Linked DNA regions of Homo sapiens: region 2 is linked to region 1. The links are contacts of gene promoters, found by promoter capture Hi-C in blood cells and fetal thymus (Javierre and others, 2016). All regions are on one chromosome and are shown on one strand. The core of a region is centred on a gene start or on the middle of the fragment in contact, and the rest is flanking DNA. Distances in the headings are between cores, read along the strand shown.

What was found. Contacts are between HindIII fragments. The CHiCAGO score rates a contact against its expected background, and 5 or more counts as called.
Region 2: a contact is called between a fragment that was not itself captured here and the fragment with the promoter of ASPRV1 in region 1, in 1 of 17 cell types (neutrophils). The highest score is 5.3, in neutrophils.

The regions. Positions count from the first base shown.
Region 1 is chr2:69,959,176-69,966,151 of GRCh38, reverse strand. It overlaps ASPRV1 (aspartic peptidase retroviral like 1), which reads left to right and starts at 4,521. Exons shown (of 1, transcript NM_152792.4): 1 at 4,521-6,063. The coding sequence starts at 4,716. The coding sequence ends at 5,495. It overlaps PCBP1-AS1 (PCBP1 antisense RNA 1), which reads left to right. Exons shown (of 11, transcript NR_033872.1): 10 at 1,725-1,921; 11 at 2,652-3,889. RefSeq lists a silencer at 4,341-4,635. The HindIII fragment of the contact is 12,271 bases long and covers 1-6,976 here.
Region 2 is chr2:69,995,057-70,002,032 of GRCh38, reverse strand. It overlaps PCBP1-AS1 (PCBP1 antisense RNA 1), which reads left to right. Exons shown (of 11, transcript NR_033872.1): 8 at 5,145-5,347. It also overlaps a transcript of ASPRV1 not described here. Among named protein-coding and RNA genes, the nearest start is that of ASPRV1, 37 kb to the right of the region's middle. RefSeq lists a silencer at 4,331-4,585. The HindIII fragment of the contact is 8,346 bases long and covers 1-6,976 here.

The sequences.
Region 1 (6,976 bases), core at 3,272-5,771:
TTGACCCCAGGCCTGGAGGCTTGCAATGGCACTGGGGCCAGGACCACTGCTCCCCAAACACCTCCAGGACCCCCCAGGGTTGGGACTTGCATTAAGCATTTTGCTGCCTCCTGACATAGTGGATTTGGCTGGTGGGCTGCGCTGGGCCACTTTGGTTAGAGGGGTTCTGAGCTAGGGGCAAAGAAGGGTAGGAGGGAGACCCAAATGGGAAGAACAGGTTCTGGAACAGTGGCAAGCTGGGGAAGGGCCCTGCAGGCAGGAGAGCTCTGTCCTTCAGCGGTGACACTGGCCTACTGGGTGAGGAGTGTGGCAGGAACGCTCATGTTGAGGAGGTTTGGCAGGGACCAAGATGGGGGTCCAGTCAAGGTCAAGCTGTCCTGCCCGTGTGCCCTTGGCCATGACTGACTGTGAATGCTGGGTGGTGCCCAGCTGGGTGGTAGGAGCAGGCATGGGTGGTCTGGGGGTTTAGGTTTGGGGATAAGGAAACTGCAGGTGCCTTGGATTTCCAAATGTATCTCGCTGTGGTCAAAGCTCTTGGCTCCTGTGCAAGCTGCCACTGTGTTCTGGGAAGTCGTCAGGCCGCAGGAACAATCTGAAGCAAACGTGTCCTGCCCGCTTTGAATGTGGCCCAACACAAATTTGTAAACTTTCTTAAAACATTATGAGTTTATGAGTTTTTGTTTTTGTTTTTGTTTTTGTTTTTTTTTTAGCCCACCAGCTATCGTTAGTGTTAGTGTATTTTATGCATGGCCCAAGACAATTCTGGTGTCGCCCAGGGAAGCCAAATAATTGGACCCCTGGTCTAAAGTGTTTGAGGTGGGCCAGGCATGGTGGCTCACGCCTGTAATCCCAGCACTTTGGGAGGCCGAGGCGGGTGGATCACAAGGTCAGGAGATCCATCCTGGCTAACACGGTGAAACCTGTCTTTACTAAAAATATGAAAAATTAGCCAGGTGTGGTGGTGTAATCCCAGCTACTCAGGAGGCTGAAGCAGGAGAATCGCTTGAGCCCAGGAGGCAGAGGTTGCAGTGAGCCGAGATCACGCCACTGCACTCCAGCCTGGGCGACAGAGTGAGACTCCATCTCAATAAATAAATAAATAATAAAGTGTTTGGAGTGAACTCACTGCCCACCAAGGGCTTCAGGTCTCAGGAGGCCCGATGGGCCCAGTCTTGGGCTTGTCTTGATGGGCCCAGTCTTGGGCTTGTCTTGATTTGCCCAACTGGCCTGAGGGAGACTAAAGCAGGCAAAGGATCCAGGTGAATATAAGAAGTGAAACAATTTCAAAAAAACAGCAGAAAAGAAACAGCAAAAGGGAACCAGGGAGCTGAGAAAGAATTGGGCTGGTTGAGCTCACAGCCCAGAAATCTCAGTGAGGGGGCGTGGAGGGTAGGGAGCCCCACTCCTTCCTGTTTATTGTCCTGCTTTGCTCCTGCAGGGTTCAGTGCGGTGTGCTTGCTTCAGGGTACACCCAGGAGACGCTAATGGGTGATAATGAGGGTGTCCCGCCCCAATACCTATACTTGTCAATAATTAACCATGATTTCCTAGGTTCTGGGAGGAGGTAGTGGCACCTGGCCTGCCCTGGCTGGTTTAGCTCATGGGGCACCTCTGGCGTAGCCATTCCAAGGTCTCTGTGTGCTTCCAGGCTGTTCTAGGGATGGGTACCTCCCAAGGCATAAGGGAACTTGAGAACTGACCTTTACCCATGTTCCTGATCCTAGCCAGAGACAGACTCCCAGACTCGGCCAGAGGCTGATGCCAACTCCTTCCAGCTCTCACGGTAACCATGAGGCCCCTGCGTGTTTCTGTTGTGGAGGTCCCAGAGGGAACTGTATGGACAGACACAGCCCGAAGGGCCATCTGCCTCAAGCCACAGCAGCACAGAATTCTAAAGATTGTGGGGAAGGATGGGGCCAAGGTGGGCTTGGGCTCCTTGGTGAGAGAGGTGATTTGGGCCCAAGCAGCTAAGCAGGGGTGGAGGTTACTATAAACTTGTTCATCACCAGCCACAGTGCTTTGCCTGCCCTAGAGAGTCAGTGTGACCAAGGCTTCCATGCAGGGGTGTGATGGAACTGGCATTCCAGAGGGGGAAAAAGTCTTGATTTAGCATTTGCCAATTTTGGTGATGTAAATACTTCCACCAAGTCTGATTTCAAGTACCAATTGGTTTAACAATTGACTCACCAAATTCCTGAATATTTAACAAGCAGCTCTTTGTCCACTGCCCACCAGACCCCTGCCCCCGGCGCCTATGCTATACCTCTCTCAGCCCAGCGCTTCACCTCCCTGTCCTTGCAAAATCCCCTTCTCTGGCCGCTGGAAAGCCTGGGACCTGAGGCCATTGAAGCTCCTGTGCTCCAGGGTCCTGGAGCGGAGCTGGTCTTCTTCCCAGGTTGTTATACTCCTCATGGAGGTGATGTGTGTAAAATGCTTTGCCAATGTGAACACCAAACCCACTCAAATGAGGTCCCAAGGGACCACCGATTTCTAGTCTAAGGGCAGTAGGGAGATCGGAATTCAACATCTACCACTATGGTTTGAAAAGCCGGTTCAGGGCATTTGGCAGTCCCAGCTTGTCAGCTGACAAGCCACCTGCCTCGCTCCTCCCTTGGTCGCATGCTAACCTCCTCACTCATTTCCACTTCCAGGGGACCAGATGTGCAGAGGTAATGAATACCAGGGAATCAGGAAACCACTGGATCAGTTCTTTGAGCCACAGAACAACACTCATCCCAGCAGCTGGGAAGCTATCTGCAAAAGTCCATCTGCAGAAAGGGCTTCCTGGTCTTGCGTGTGGCTGGGCCATTTCTCTGGATGCAGGTTTTTCATTATACAGTCTTCTCAAAGAACCACCTGCTCTCAACACCTTCTCGGTGACTCCATTTCCCCTCCTCTGGGCTCCTGGAATGCCACAATGGCCCCACCTTAGCCAGGCAGCTGTGATGAGAGGTGTTGACCCAACTGCCTCTCTGCTGGCTCACTGAATCAGGTGGAAGGGGCTGGGGACAGCACAGTCTTGCATTGTGGTTGGGGACCTGGGCCATCCAGAGGCAGGACTGTCCAAAGGCAGGGTACTGCTGGGATTCCGCCAGGCACTGGGTGATGCATGGCATAGGGAGCTGAAGAGGGACAGGCTCTTGGCCAGGAAAAACAGCCCCAGAGCCACAGGTGTGCCATCGAGTCTTCCTCCTCTCCCATCCTTAATCACTCCTGTTTGGTGACAGCACACAGCTAGGCCTGGAGCCCAGCAAAGAGCCCCTGGGTCCCAGAGGAAGTTGTTCTGGGGGCTGGAGACAATCACAAATGCCAGGTTTGTGAGCCCCAGACTCTGGTTCATAGCAAGAGGCAGACTTGTGAACAAACCACCAGATCACACCGTAAAACACGCTCAACGAGGAGTGGGTGCCCTTTCTAGGGACAGGCAGAAGGCTCCATGGAGTGACCTTTGAATGGGGACATAAAAGTGGATCCCTTCAACAGCCCCTGCACAGCCCCAAGTCAGGCCTCCAGCCCTTGGACTCACAGATGTCCTCTGTAGACGACTGGATGTCCTCCCGTGCTACCCTTTACCCCTGCAGCGAGGGGCACAGAGCCAGAGCCCTCCAGGTCCTCACCACTGGCATCACCAACATAGTGGACATTTTCCCTCTCAGAATGAAAAGGGAGTGAAATTTCCCGTGATCTTTCCACAAATGACCAGCTTGGGGAGTGGGAGAGGAAGTGCTGCAGTGCCTGGGGAAGGGGCCCTGGAACAGTTCCTGGAAATGGAGAGGGGTGGATAGGGTGGAGACAATGCTCATGGAGTGCAGTATGGGGCCTACCCAGAGTTGCTTGGCCACCCCTCTGCCTCTGAATCAGGGGTGATCAATGAAGGAAAATTACTGCAGCAGTTGAGTCCATGTAAGATGATTGTGCACGTGTGTGTGTGTGTGTGTGTGTGTGTGTGTGTCCTCACTCACTTAAAAAAGACCATTTCTGTGCATTCTTTATGCTGGAACCCTCCTCTGCCTCCCTCTCCAGGAAATCCCATAGGATCCCATACCTGCTTTAGAATGTGTGTGAGACACTTCCCAGTGCCTGGCATGTGGTAGGAGCTCAGTACATGTAAACTGTTTTCCTTTGACCACTCAAAGTAGTCACTTGTTGGGGAGGCCAATGGCGGCTTCCCCGGTCTCTGAGCTGATGGGCGTCTGGTCCCTGCCTCCCCTTCCTTCACTGGCTGATGACAAATACCTGAATGTCATCACATCCTCCGTGTCCTCATCTGTTATTCTGGAACACAGGCCAGGGAGGGTACAGGGTAGTCCCCCTTCAACAGAGGCTGGCCTTTCTTGGGATGTGGGCTGGCTGGTGTTGGTCCAAGGATGGATGCAGAGGGTGAGGCACCCATCCTGCTAGTCCGGCCGGATGCTGGCAGGAGGGCGGGGTGAGGAGGGGCGGAGCTTCCAGAACAAAGGAGAATGGGGAGCCCAGGGGCCAGCCTAGGCATCAAAAAGGCTCTGCAGAGTGAACAGGCCACAGCACTGCCTGCCTCTGCCCCAGCAGTCAGCCAGCCGACCGCGCCTGCTCCCTCCTGCTTGCCCAAGGCCGGGCAAGTCATCCCCACTCTGCTTCGAGAGGCCCCGTTTTCCAGCGTGATTGCGCCGACACTGCTCTGTGGGTTTCTCTTCTTGGCGTGGGTTGCTGCTGAGGTTCCAGAGGAGAGCAGCAGGATGGCCGGGAGCGGAGCCAGGAGTGAGGAAGGCCGCCGGCAGCATGCCTTCGTCCCGGAACCTTTTGATGGGGCCAATGTCGTCCCAAACCTCTGGCTGCACAGCTTTGAAGTCATCAATGACCTCAACCATTGGGACCATATCACCAAGCTAAGGTTCCTGAAAGAGTCCCTCAGAGGAGAGGCCCTGGGTGTCTACAATAGGCTCAGTCCCCAGGACCAGGGAGACTATGGGACTGTGAAAGAGGCCCTCCTGAAGGCCTTTGGGGTCCCTGGGGCTGCCCCCAGCCACCTGCCCAAAGAGATCGTCTTTGCCAACAGCATGGGTAAGGGCTACTATCTCAAGGGGAAGATTGGCAAAGTGCCCGTGAGGTTCCTGGTGGACTCTGGGGCCCAGGTCTCTGTGGTCCACCCAAACTTGTGGGAGGAGGTCACTGATGGCGATCTGGACACCCTGCAGCCCTTTGAGAATGTGGTAAAGGTGGCCAATGGTGCTGAAATGAAGATCCTGGGTGTCTGGGATACAGCGGTGTCCCTAGGCAAGCTGAAGCTGAAGGCACAGTTCCTAGTGGCCAATGCGAGTGCCGAGGAAGCCATCATTGGCACTGATGTGCTCCAGGACCACAATGCTATCCTGGACTTTGAGCACCGCACATGCACCCTGAAAGGGAAGAAGTTTCGCCTTCTGCCTGTGGGAGGGTCCCTGGAAGATGAGTTTGACCTGGAGCTCATAGAGGAGGACCCCTCCTCAGAAGAAGGGCGGCAGGAGCTATCCCACTGAGAAGCCACCTTTTCTTTAACCTCCTAAATATTGGTGGGAAGACCCACCGCTGTGGGGGGGGTTGCATATCCTCATGGGGGTCACTGGGCTTGGCCAGTCTGCTTATCAACTCTTGCTCTTCTCTCCCCTTTGCCTCCCTCTGCAGGGGCCTTAATCTGCCCCTGGTAGGGGAGGCTTCCACTGAACAGGCACAGGTGAGGGAGAGCAGGCTGGCTTAGAGGGACAGGGTCCCCATGGTCATCAAGCTGCTGTTGATGACAAAGACTCAAAGGCTGGAAGAGCTCCCAAGGAAGCTAGAAATGCTTGTCTTTGAAAGAACTGTGGGACCCCTTCAGATTCCCTGAGGTATGGCTTGGTCACTCTCAGGTCCTCAAAGCCTGTCTTAGTTGGGCTGGGTCCTAGCTGCAGGGTCTTTGTGAGGGTCACAGTTGCTCTGGGACACCTCCCTGAAGAGCCTTTCCACCTGTACAATCGTATTTTCTTTCTGTCATTTGCTTTGAAGCCCATTGTGCCTTATGCCAATAATTCAATTGCTGCAAACACCAATAAAGATTGATTCATGGAAAAACCATGTAATGTGTTGATTGAGGATGAGAGGAATGTGAGAGGGAGTCAGCATCAAAGACAAGGGAGATTCACATGTCTACTGAGTGCCTAGCTGGAGGTATAAGAACATATACACAGGGATGACAGGTCTTGGATTTTCTAAGACAGTCTCAGCATAAAATATTTTGACTTATTCCCTCCAGAATTGCTCTCATTATTTTGAATCGTCATAATTCCTCTACTTATTTCAATCTGTAGTATTTTAGCATACAAATTGCCTCTATACCCAAAAGTGACCCTAAAGTTTTATGTGAGATGTCTTGATTGGGGATTGGGAAATTATGGTTATGATAAACAAACAGGAAAGTGTCTGCTGGGCAAATAGGTTCTTACAGCTGTCCAGGAGCGAGAACTTGGAGGCAGAAAGCAGGGCCAGGAGACAAGTGTTGACCTGTGTGGGGCAGCCCAAGGGCATGCTGGAGGACGGGGGAGGCTGTGGCAAGGCAGGGTCCCGGCGGTGGGAGGTCAGCTTCTTCTTGGAGGGACTTGGAACAGAGCCTGAAACTAGATGACCTGATGGAGGGGAGGACATTCCCAGATCTGGGAATGGGGTGTGCATCTCTTTTAGGGGTCCATCTCGTATTTGCTTCCAAATTTCTGTTTCTTTTTCTGGAGTGCAGCAGGGCTGGGAATCTGAAACTCAAAGGGAGGAGCTGAGTGGACAAAAGTCTCCACAGAAGAGCCAGTTTGTTCCAAATCTCAGGCCTCCCCACCAAGCACATCGGGCGAGCCTGTTCTCAGGGGAGGGTGGCCTGCACCCTCCAAACTTTGGGCCCAGGAAGATTGGCGCAAGGTCAGAGACTCGAACGTGCAGGGATCCCAGACCTCTTGATGGAGGCATGAAGGACCATTTTCCATCCTCCAGGGTGGAATGA
Region 2 (6,976 bases), core at 2,655-5,154, 36 kb before region 1:
TAAGATATTTTTTCTGTGCATATATATTTTATTACATAAATGGGTTCATACTGTACGTCTGTTCTATGACTCGCTTTTTATACTTAGCAATACATTGTGAACATTTTTTCTTGTCAATGAAATTTTTATTGATCGCTTATATTTCACTATGAATTTACCATGATTTAACGAATCCCTTCTTATTGCCACTTTAGGTTATTAACAATTGTGTCCATTATATATAATTCTGACTCTGTGCACATCCTTATTATTATTATCATTATTCTTTTTATGAGATGGAGTTTCGCTCTTGCTGCTCAGGCTGGGGTGCAATGGGGAGATCTTGGCTCACTGCAACCTCCATCTCCTGGGCTTAAGCGATTCTCCTGCCTCAGCCTCCTGAGTAGCCAGAGTTACAGGTATGTGCCACCATGCCTGGCTAATGTTTTTGTATTTTTAATAGAGACAGGGTGTCACCATGTTGGTCAGGCTGGTCTTGAACTCCTGACCTCAGATGACCCACCTGCCTCGGCCTCACAAAGTGCTGGGATTATAGGTGTGAACCACCAACCCCAGCCACATCCTTATTTTGATCCCCTTAAGTAGAAGGGGATCTACTGCTTTAGCCTCCCAAGTAGCTGAGATTACAGGCATGCACCACCACATTGGCTAACTTTTGTATTTTTTAGTAGAGACAGGGTTTCACCATGTTGGCCAGGCTTGTCTTGAACTCCTGAGTTCAAGTAATTCATCCTCCTCGGCCTCCCAAAGTGCTGGGATTATAGGCATGGTTTCTGTCTTTATGTCAGTTTCAGAAAGACTTCTGCTACAGAGTTTATATTAATATATTCAAACAAACTATCTCAATACTTTAATTTTTTTTTTTTAATTTAAAAAGTTAAATAGAGTAGATCAAGGAGTATGCACACTTTCAAGGATTTGGTACATATTGTCAAATTGCCTTCCAGGAAGGATGTATCAACTTAGGCTCTTGTCACCAATCCTATGAGAGTGCCTCCTTCACTATGTCCTTCCCAACACTGGGGATTAGCATTTTTGAAAATTTTGCAAATTTGATAAGCAAAAACAAATAGTATATCATTGTTGCTTTAGTTTGCTTTCCTTTTCCTTTTCTCTTTTTATTACTTGGACTCTTTTACAGGCCAGCCGTTGGTAATTCTTTCTGATGAATTATCTGCTTATGTGCTTTATCTAGTTTTCTTTTCTTTTTCTTTCTTTTTTTTTTTTTTTTTTTTTTTTTTTTTGAGGCAGGGTCTTGCTCTGTTGCCCAGGCTGGAGTGCAGTGGCGTGATCACAGCTCACTGCAGCCTCAACCTCCTGGGCTCAGGTGATCCCCCACCTCAGCTTCCCAAGTAACTGGGACTATAGGCGCATGCCACCATAGCCAGCTAGTTTTTGTATTTTAAGTAGAGACAGGGTTTTGCCGTGTTGGCCAGGCTGGTCTCAAGTTCCTGAGCCCAAGCAATCCGCCCACCTCGGCCTCCCAAAGTGTTGGGATTACAGGCGTGAGCCACCGAGCCCAGTCAGTTTTCTGTTTTCTATTGATATATTTCTCCATTTTTCCCACTTCATTTGTGTAGTTTATTATTATTATTTAGTGTGGTATATTATTTTTTTCTTATTTATTTTAAAGATGTATTCAGGCTATTAACTCCTTGTCTGTCATATATTACGTGTGTGTGTGTGTGTGTGTGTGGTTTTTTTTTTTTTTTTTGGAGATGAGGGTTTCACTATGTTGCCGAGGCTGGCCTCAAACATCTGGCCTCAAGTAATACTCCTGCCTTAGCCTGCCCAGTAGCTGGGATTACAGGTGTGAGCCACCTTGCCCAATTCTCATATATTACAAATATTTTATCCTAGATTATCACTTGTCATTTAGTCTTGTTCATTTTTAAAGCATTCATGAATCTAAAATATCCATGTAATCAAGGTAGTCTGTATAGGCTTTCCAAACCATGAGGCTAGAGGTGGCCATGACTCGAAGCAGGGAGGCCAGCAGGGAGGCGGCTCCTGCCAGAGTGCAGATGTGGCAGGATGAGGCCGAAGGTGGGGCAGGGCTAGAGAGGAGGCGAGCGGGGCCAACTCAAGGCAGATGAGAGAGGGGACCAAGATGTGGTGACCTTGGGTGGGAGAGGGAGGAAGGAGGAGGAGCCCGGGGTGACTCACAGGTGCTGACCCGGAGGAGGGCAGGGTGTGAGCAGGTAGAGGATGAGCCAGGATTGGGACTGTAGGAAGGGGAGTGGTGGGGGTGGGGTGCAGAGATCGTGACAATTCCCTTTGGGATTGTTGTGTGGAGGCTCCTGGCCAGATAAGTCACTGGTATTTGGATCACTAGGACTGGGCTGGTTTCTGTCTTTTTTTTTTTTTTTTTTTTTTTGAGACAGAGTCTTGCTCTGTCACTCAGGCTGGAGTGCAGTGGCACGATTTCAGCTCACTGAAACCTCTGCCTCCTGTGTTCAAGTGATTATCCTGCCTTAGCCTGCCGAGTAGCCAGGATTACAGGCATGCCCCCACCACACCGGCTAGTTTTTGTATTTTTGTAGTAGAGACTAGGTTTCACCATGTTGGCCAGTCTTGTGTTGAACTCCTGAGCTCAAGTGATCTGCCCTCCTTGGCCTCCCAAAATACTGGGATTATAGGCATTGTTTCTGTCTTTATATCAGTTTCAGGAATACTTCCGCTGCAGAATTTATATTAATATATTCACACAAATTATCTCAATATTTTAGTGAGTTTTTTTTTTTAATTTGAATCTTAATCTAGCTGGGCACAGTGGTGTGCACCTGGAGTCCCAGCTACCTGGGAGGCGGAGGCAGGAGGAATGCTCAGGCCTAGGAGCTGAAGGCTGTAGTGCGTTGCGATTGCACCTGTGACTAGCCACTGCACTCCAGCCTGGGCTACGTAGTGAAACCCTGTTTCCAAAAAATAAAATAAATATTAATCTAGATGGAATCTGTAGTATTTTTGTGAATTGTGAAAGTTAAGGAGTTAACTCACTGTCATTGACCTCCACCTGGGGCAGCCCCCAGTCCCTGGCCCAGAGACAGTCCTGTGGGCCCTCAGAGTCCCTGTGTCGCTGCTGCTGTTACTGCTATGGCTCTTGGCCTGTGCCCGACTGCTGACTGCCATCAAGCCCACTGTGTTGGGGTTTCCTGTCAGTCATGCCCGGAGCCCTGCCTCTAGCCAGTGCCCTCTCCCAGCCTGGTTTCTTTCGAGCATTTCCTGCGGGTTAGCTCTGGGGATCTTTTCCTAGCCTGTTCTTACCTGTGTTATTGCCAGAAAGAAATCTTTTTTTTTTTTTTTTGAGACGGAGTCTTGCTCTGTCACCCAGGCTGGAGTGCAGTGGCGTGATCTCTGCTCACTGCAAGATCCGCCTCCCGGGTTCACGCCATTCTCCTGCCTCAGCCTCCTGAGTAGCTGGGACTACAGGCGCCCACCACCGTGCCCGGCTAATTTTTTTTTGTATTTTTAGTAGAGACGGGGTTTCACCGTGGTCTCGATCTGACCTCGTGATCCACCCGCCTCAGCCTCCCAAAGTGCTGGGATTACAGGCGTGAGCCACTGCGCCCGGCACCAGAAAGAATTCTTCACAGTTGCTGGCATTTTTATGGCCTTTCCCCAGTTTCTTTAGCAGATGCATATTTTTCTCTGTTTCAGATTTGCTAGGTTCTTTTTTTTTTTAAGTGACTTTTTAAAGGATCTTTTCTTATTGGGGAATGACAAACATAAAGTCACAAATCCTAAGCATACATCTCAGTGAATTTTTACATAGGTATTCACTATGTCCCCACTACCCTGATCAAGAGACTTCTTTTAGCGTTAAGAAGCTATTGGTGGGAGGTTGGGTGGAGAGGGAAATCATAAATGTGTCCCCACACTGCTTTTTTTTTTTTTCTAGAACTATCAGGAAATGGTGTGAGGAGGGGAGCCACATATGAATTTCGGCTTTATAAAGGGGTATGGAGAGCACAGCGGTTAGAAGTCAGGCTGGTCATGAGCTGGTCCTGCCCCTCACTAGCCCTGAGACTTTCTATGCCTCAGTTTCAACAACTGTAAAATGGGAGTAGAATACAGCTCCTGTCTCATAGCATTGTCATGAAGATTACATGAGGCAGTGCACGTAAGTGCACAAAAAATGTCAATTGTTGTTTCTCTTGTTATTAATAACGATGAGGAAGAGGCGGCCGTAACCGTGGTTCTTAACTAGGAGTATGTGTCAGAATCACCTGGGGCACTTTTGCAAAAATACACATGCTTGACCCGGCCAGATCAACTGAGTCAGGATCTAGATTTTAAATGCCTCCCCAGGTCATTCTGTTGCTCATCTGTGGTTCAGTGCCATCGGGCTGGAGGTGGCCATGACTGGAAGCAGGGAAGCCAGCAGGCGGCCCCTGCCAGAGAGCAGGTGTGGCAGGAGGAGGACGCAGCTGGGGCAGGGCTGGCGAGGAGGAGAGCAGAGCTGACTTGAGGCAGACAGGAGAGGTGGCCAAGACATGGTGACTTTGCACAGGGGAGGGAGGAAGGAGGAGAAGCCCGGGGTGACTCACAGGTGCTGACTTGGACAAGTGTGGTGGAGGATGAGCCAGGGTAGGGACTACAGGAAGAGAAGTGGTGGGGGCAGGGCACAGAGATTGTGACAATTCCTTCTGGGCTCCTGGTGAGGATAAGTCAGTATTTAGATCTCTAGGCCTAGGTCGGTACTATGGTTCTGGGAGATGTTGGTGCGGAGGAGATGGATAAAGCCATGGGCTTGGTCATTGAGTAAAATGTAGAGGGCAGAGGAGGGCCAAGTTCACAAGCATCCTCCTCTGCAAAGGCCTGCGTCCATTTTTTTTTTTTTTTTTTAATAGACTGGGTCTTGCTCTGTCACCCAGGCTAGAGTGCAGTGGTGCGATCATAGCTCACTGTAGCTTTCAACTTCTGGGCTTAAGCCATCCTCCTGCCTTAACTTCTCAAAGTGTTGGAACTATAGGCGTGAGCCCCACACCCAGCCTCCTTGTGTGTCCACTTCTTATTCTGCCTTACCTAGAAATAGAGAAGAGCTTGTTTCTCATGCAATAACCCCTGCTGAGGACTGTTGGAAAATAAACTGTCCCCTCATCTGAAGATGAATAATAACTTTGGGTCATTTTCTTTCTTTACAGGTCACAGAATTTTCCACACTCCTTGACAGAGGTGCTTAACCCTTATCCATCAGCATTCTCAGACAGCACCTCCGGTTAGGGACAGTATCTGACCGTCCGACATCCCTGCAGCCCCCATGTGTCACACAGACTCAGCCTCAGGTAGATGGTTTCCGTAGATGGTGGCTTTCTTTGGACCCTTGACATCAACCAGTTACTATTTGGTAAGAACTTAAGTCATTCCAGTGCCTCTCTCAGAAGCATTTGCATTTAGAATTTCAGGTGTCATAGAAGTAATGAAAGACGTTGCATTCCTGAAGGAATGAATAAATTATTCATTTTGTTGTTCTGGAACATCACTGCCCACTAGAATTTACCATGATGATAGTAATGTTCTCTGTGCTGTTCCATGAAGTAGCTACTGGCCACATGTGGCTATTGAACATTTGAGATGTGTCCAGTGTGACTGAGGAACTGGATTTTTTCATTTTAATGAATTAAAATTGAATTTTTTTTTTGAGACAAGGTCTTACTCTGTCACCCACGCTGGAGTGCAGTGCTGTGATCATGGCTCATTGCAGCTTTGACCTCCTGGGCTCACATAATTCTCCCACCTCAGCCTCCCAAGTAGCTGGGACCACAGGTGTGTGCCACCACACCCAGCTAATTGTTTTTTTTTTTTTTTTTTTTTTTTTGAGAGATGGGGGTCTCCCTATATTGCCCAGGCTGGTCTCAAACTCCTGGGCTCAAGCGATCCTCCCTTGGCATCCCAAAGTGCTGGGATTACAGGGGTGAACCTCGACACCCCACCTTAAAATTGTAATTTAAACTGAAAAAAGGAAAACAGGCACTATGAAGTTGTATTCTCTGGGTTGGTGAGAGCTAGGGATGTTATGCTGATACCCCACCTGACTGCTCCACTACCAAGTGCTCCCCAAAGAGATTTGGAATAAAGGAGGAGGAGGCCTTGGTTCTTAACTAAGGATGATTCCAACCATCTGCAAAAGCAGGCATCAAGTAGAAGATTACTTGGCTGTTTCCACATCGAAACCAAATGGGCTTTCTTTCTCCCCCTAACGCTGGCCTCAGCCCTCATTCTGCCTGCATGAGAAGGCGGTGTCTAGTACTGCCCCTCCCAGGCCTCTCCAGGCTTCCTTCTTCCTGCTCTTCCCACCTTGGGACAATTGCCCCTGCCCTCCCTTCTGCCCTGTGTCCCTCTTCCTGCTCCCACCACAGCAAGCCCCACCTCCTCCAAGAAGGCTTCCCAGACTCCTCTGTCCCTTCCAGGTGAGGCTAGTTCTAGGGCCCTGAACAAATTCCATTTGGCTTCCCAACTGAGGGTAAGGTGGCAGGGATGGGTCTTAGGAAGATCAACTGCAGGATGGATGTGAGTGTAACCACTGTATTTCTGACTTCTTCGACCACTGCTTATGGTGAGAAAGATATCTCCTGTCCCAAGCAGGACACACCTCAATGTATGGATACATAGCACTGAAGCAAAAGTTTTTTTTTTTTTTTTTTGAGGCAGAGTCTTGCTCTGTCACCCAGGCTGGAGTGCAGTGGCGTGATCTTGGCTCACTGCAAGCTCCGCCTCCCGGGTTCGCACCATTCTTCTGCCTCAGCCTCCCGAGTAGCTGGGACTACAGGTGCCCGTCACCACGCCTGGCTAATTTTTTTTTTGTATTTTTAGTACAGACGGGGTTTCACTGTGTTAGCCAGGATGGTCTCGATCTCCTGACCTCGTGATCTGCCTGCCTCGGCCTCCCAAAGTGCTGGGATTACAGGTGTGAGCCACTGCACCCGGCCGCAAAAGTTTTGTCAAAACAATATTCACCCTGACTACATGTGATGTG